2 separate regions of the Homo sapiens genome follow, and region 1 is linked to region 2. The links are contacts of gene promoters, found by promoter capture Hi-C in blood cells and fetal thymus (Javierre and others, 2016). All regions are on one chromosome and are shown on one strand. Each heading gives the region's core, a stretch centred on a gene start or on the middle of the fragment in contact. The rest is flanking DNA. Distances are from core to core; before and after follow the strand shown.

Evidence for each region. The method cuts DNA at HindIII sites, captures the fragments that hold promoters and counts their contacts. A CHiCAGO score of 5 or more calls a contact.
Region 1: a contact is called between a fragment that was not itself captured here and the fragment with the promoter of ZWINT in region 2, in 1 of 17 cell types (fetal thymus). The highest score is 10.3, in fetal thymus.

Annotation. Positions count from the first base shown.
Region 1 is chr10:52,820,524-52,823,223 of GRCh38, reverse strand. No RefSeq gene overlaps it. Among named protein-coding and RNA genes, the nearest start is that of MBL2, 49 kb to the right of the region's middle. The HindIII fragment of the contact is 7,997 bases long and covers 1-2,700 here.
Region 2 is chr10:56,359,953-56,362,652 of GRCh38, reverse strand. ZWINT (ZW10 interacting kinetochore protein) reads left to right here and starts at 1,394. Exons shown (of 9, transcript NM_007057.4): 1 at 1,394-1,457; 2 at 2,270-2,360; 3 at 2,512-2,635. The coding sequence starts at 1,417. It overlaps LOC124902546 (a long non-coding RNA gene), which reads right to left and starts at 1,194. Exons shown (of 2, transcript XR_007062372.1): 1 at 797-1,194. RefSeq lists a silencer at 1,127-1,336 and enhancers at 1,427-1,596, 945-1,684, 2,424-2,700, 2,310-2,700. The HindIII fragment of the contact is 11,189 bases long and covers 17-2,700 here.

The sequences.
Region 1 (2,700 bases), core at 132-2,631, 3.5 Mb after region 2:
TACAAGAGTTGGGCAAAAATCAATGAAAATGTTCCATAAGAATCAACTGGCAATGTGGAATTTATAATGGAGACTATCATATATTTTGTTATTATTTAGAAATTGAGTGTTATACATCCTTTATATCAATATAATTTATAATCAGTGTGTGTACACACACACACATACAAACACATGTTTAACTTAGGGTTGTTGTTGTTTTTGCAGAGGTTGCACTTAATTCATCCTCAGAGGGGAGGAGTTTGTCTGTGGATTAGACTGATGCCCTGGGATGCATATCTTTCAAAGTTGTTAAATATCATGTGTATAAAGATATATTCACCTGATACTTGCTCCATGAAGCCTGAGAAGTAAAGCAGAGACAGGCTAAAAACCTGGTCATCTGTTTCACTTAGCTGCCTTCTTCCTCTTATACCTGCTTTATTCCATTTCATTGGTGATGAAAAATGGACCTGAGAGTTGCTGATGCTGCTTCTCTAGTTATCTCTGACCTTGCCGTTAAAGCAGGAAGATCTAGAGTCAGTTATGGGGTTGGGAAGAAGGAAGTAGATGAGACTACATATATAAATGCTACGTTGGTAAGAGAGCCCCAAGCCTGTCCTTGGTGTAGACAGATAATTTCTGTGTATATATAATCAAGTTCTACACCGTGTTTTCAGGCCAAGTTCACTGCATAATGGAAAATGCCCTTACATTTATTATTTTTACTCTGGCAGTATATATTCTCTTTGGGAACTTGGACTATATTAACCAGATTTTTTTTCCTTTTTAAATAACATCTTAATCTCACTCCTTGCACTATTACAATTCTCACAAATAACAGAAGCAGCATTTCTCTCTGATTATAATTTTGTCCATCTTCCTTCTCTGAACTCAGGTCTTCAGCAACATTTGAACTAGAAGTCTACGTCTGATTGCTTCCAGAATCTATATGATCATAATACAGTTTCTAGAGAGTGACCAGGAATGATAGGTAAAGAATCATGAAATACTGTACACACACACACACACACACACACACAAAAGGATTGCCTATTATGTCTATCCGCTCTGTAATTTGTAAAACAAAATCAGGGTGTAAATTGTTCTATGCCAGGGTGAAAAATCACAGATTTTCTTTGAAAATATACAAAACTAAGCAAAAGAAAAACTAAGCATACTGGGAGAGCTTTGGCAGTTGTCATCAGTACTTCTTATAGTTAGAAAGAGCAATCGTGTCCCTGAGAGTCTATGAGGTATCAGTGCCACAAAGCAAGGTATCGGTGGTCTCCATACTAAACATGGGTGGAGGAAGAAGGTTTGAAACATGGAGCAAAGCCGCCTGGAGCAGGTTTTGAATGTGGACATTTTTGCCTCATAGATTAGTAGATGGAAGAAATCTAGAAAAAACAGATTTCACAAGAAAATCCCATGACTGTTTCTGAAAACATATGATCTTCTCCCTCTGGCTTTCATTTTCCCACTTCTGATAAGCAATTTTTATGGGAAATGTTTTATTTCCCTTTTAGCTCTACTATCACAAATACAACAATGCAAGCATGATAAGAAATGGAGGCTAGCAATCTCAGAGCAAAAATTAAGAAAGACAGGAGAATGTGGCAGACCGAAGAACTTTTCTTCTTCTGTCTAAATGTGGCAGCTGCTATGTAACTCCAATCTATGTTTGTATAAACACAGAGCCAGTGTTGTCATATTGTTCATTATTTTAAAGAAACCAAAAACATGGACTTGAAACCAAAAACATGGACTTAATTAAAAATGTATGAATTGTAAGTGTTGGGAATGACCAATAAATTTTTTTTAAAAATTGCAGACCAGAAGTATGCAGGGTAAACGAAACTTCCCTAACAGTAAATATTAAGACATCAATTTACAACTACTACCTGAAATTCATAAGGTAATTAAAAGGACATTAAGCCTATCTGACTTTACTGCAAAAACTGAACACAAAGTTGTTCCAAGGACATATAATGCTATGATTTAAGGATGACTGAAATGAGTGAGAGAGGTCTTCCTTACATAGAATCACTTTTCCACTTCCAAGTGGAATGATGTCAAATGATGTTAGTGATTTTCTCCTGTTTCAAAGTGTCCCTCGATCCAATCACTATAGCTCAAATCTAGCAAAATAATGATTCTATTACCTGCTACTACATGATGAGCTGAATATTTACACAGAGTTCATCCACTCCATTGACGTTTCAATTACACATTTGACAAAATGACTTATTGGCACACCTGATAAGAAGCATTCACACCTACCTGAAGAAACCATAGAGTAATGTAAATTCATCATGTGTTATTTCAGGCAGCCAGTCTTTGAAAGCACCTTTCATTTAGAAATCAAAGGTGAAGGTCTAAAGAAAAGAACTCTCTTATCCAATCAATCATTAGCATATATGAAATGTTGACCTGATGCCCCTTATTCATAACTGATTATTTAACAAAAATAAAAAACAAGAGAGAAATTTATTTCCTTCCTGAGTAAAGTAAATCTTTGTTTTTAGTACAAGCAGGCAAATCAGTAACCAAATAATAAATGGAGAGTTAAATAAGGGTTTATCATCTGCCTCACTTACCAATGGTTGCTTACTGTCTGATGATTCCATACTTTCAGTGACCATACTAATAAAAACAGCTCACCCGGACAAATTTACAAGCCAGTTTTCAAAAGCAACACATTGCCACTTCCACACTAGC
Region 2 (2,700 bases), core at 145-2,644:
TTTCTTTTTGCAAGCTTGGTAATTTTTCTTTGTATGACATATGTAAATTGCACCTTTGGTGAACATTTTTCTATTTCTATAAATACTGCTGAAGTTTGGTCTTGTCATCTGTCATGGTTTGTTAAGTTTGATCCATTTGGGTCTTACTTTTAAGAGTTAGATGGCACTACAGCACTGATCAGCTAGGACTAATTACTGCCTACTAAATAATTAGTAAACAACTATCAAATCAAGACTTTTTTGTGTGTACTCTGTCCAGTGTCCTACGGACTATGAAGTTTTCCAGCCTGGTTAGTGGAAATAGAGACTATTTCTGACCCTCTGTAATGTCCATATATATATATTTATATATATATATATATGTATTTTTTTTTTTTTGTGAGACGGAGTCTCGCACTGTCACCAGGGCTGTAGTGCTGTGGCGCAATTTCGGCTAACTGCAACCTCAGCCTCCCTGGTTCAAGCAATTCTCCTGCCTCAGCCTCCCGAATAGCTGGGATTACAAGCGCCCACCACCACGCCCAACTAATTTTTTTTGTACTTTTAGTAGAGACGGGGGTTTCACCATGTTGGCCAGGCTGGTCTCAAACTCCTGACCTCGTAATTCACCTGCCTCAGACTCACAAAGTGCTGGGATTACAGACGTGAGCCACCGCGACCGGCCATGTCCTGGTATCTTTAAAAATCTTTTAGCTAGTTTCTTGAGACACATACTGCTCAGTACTCAGCTGAATGAATACCAAGTTCTCTCTCAGCAGTTATCTTTCTCCTGTACTCTGCAAAGAACATTACCTACCTTGGTCTCCCCAGAATATCTGTTCTATTTTGCCAACGCAGGCAATCGGCTGGGCTCTGCTTGAGTTCACTCTCCTGCATCGCATCTATAAAATACTAATATCTTTGAAAGCAGCTCGCTTTTTGAGCGCAGATCATTTGCTTCCTGTATCTCCCGGATCACTATTCTTTACTGATTCCCAGCGTCTTAGAAACAGCCCCACTGTTTTTCGGGGTTTTGTTTTTTTTTTTCTACAGCAGTAGTGAATATTTTAAATAAAGTGTCAATGCTGTAAGTTTCCCTTAAAACGCAAACTCAAGGAAATGCTTTCCCTTTTTCGAGTAGAGAAAGAACTTCCACAGGCGCGCGGTCGAGCTCAAGCCCACTTATAGTCTCTGGCACCGCGTAAGGACTAGCGCGCAGGCGCAGAGCCCGTGCGCGCCTAGCCATAACCGCGCTTGCGCCAAGCAGCGAGGCCCGCCAACGAGCGAATCCGCGCCTGCCAATTAGAGCGCACAATGGTCCTTGATGCCCGCCCACTAACCTCTGCAGCCAATCGCCTGCCCCGGCGCGAAGTCGACTGTGACTTCAAAGTAATCTTAGGGATTGTGGGAAGGCAGCTGAACTCGGCGCCTGGAAAGATGGAGGCAGCGGAGACAGAGGCGGAAGCTGCAGCCCTAGAGTAAGTGTTTGCGGCTAAGTGGCAGCTGGGGCCGGGCCTGGGAGGACCTTGTGGGCCCCTATGTGTAATGATTGGTGCCCTCGACCCTGTACAGCTGTTGAGGTTCGACCCTGCCGTGAAGTGATCCTCACCGCAGTCCCGTCTTAGGTTCCTGAGGTGTCTGTTGCCTGCTCCAGGAGTACAGCCTTTGGGGGACCGTTCGCCGCTCCCCACATCCACATAATCCACAGGATGTGCTCTAGGAGACGGTTTCACTTCTGTCTTCTTGTCCCAACACGACACATTCCCAGTCACTTCTCATCCCCATCCCTGCCCCTTCGTAGATTGCTCCAGTCCCTAATAATGAAAAACCCTAGAGTAGACCGAGGCATCCAGCCCTCTGCCCTGAGTCCTTTCTCAGCTATTCCAAGACTCTGCCCCAAGGCTGGTGCTCAGCGCCAGGAGGGATCCCAAGGCCCAGCATTCTTCCCCTTCCTTGCATATCTCCCTGGCTTCCTTCACATCTTGACTCAAATGATTTCTCTTCAGTGAGACACTCCCTATTTAAAATTTCAGCTCTTTTCTCAAACTCCTTATCCACTAGCCCTGCTGATTTTCCTTTTGGCACGTATTACCACCGTGTGCCCTCCATGCACGCCATTCCTGGTTGCAGGCTGTGGACCCTTCAGGCCCTTGTGTAAACTCTGGTCAAGGCAAGACTCTCAATACTATATATACTGATATACACATCCACATTTGTTTGTGTACACACACGAACTGTAGAACTAGCACCACAAGAAACTGCAATTTCCTGTGTTTCCTTGCCCCTCCAGGGTCCTGGCTGAGGTGGCAGGCATCTTGGAACCTGTAGGCCTGCAGGAGGAGGCAGAACTGCCAGCCAAGATCCTGGTTGAGTTTGTGGTGGTATGTACAAGATGAGAGCGAGCCTTTCAGAAGCCAGGGTCTGGTCCTGGCTCCTCTTACTGAGATACAGGGCAGCACTGGCAGAGAGCAGACTTAAGGAAACCTGTAAGGAGGTAAGGATGTTCCCTGTCTCTGCCCTCCCTCTGAGCAGGACTCTCAGAAGAAAGACAAGCTGCTCTGCAGCCAGCTTCAGGTAGCGGATTTCCTGCAGAACATCCTGGCTCAGGAGGACACTGCTAAGGGTCTCGACCCCTTGGCTTCTGAAGACACGAGCCGTGAGTAGGCAGGGGATTGTAGTAGCAGCTGACCTGAGTGGGGAAGGAAGGAGGATTTCAGTTAG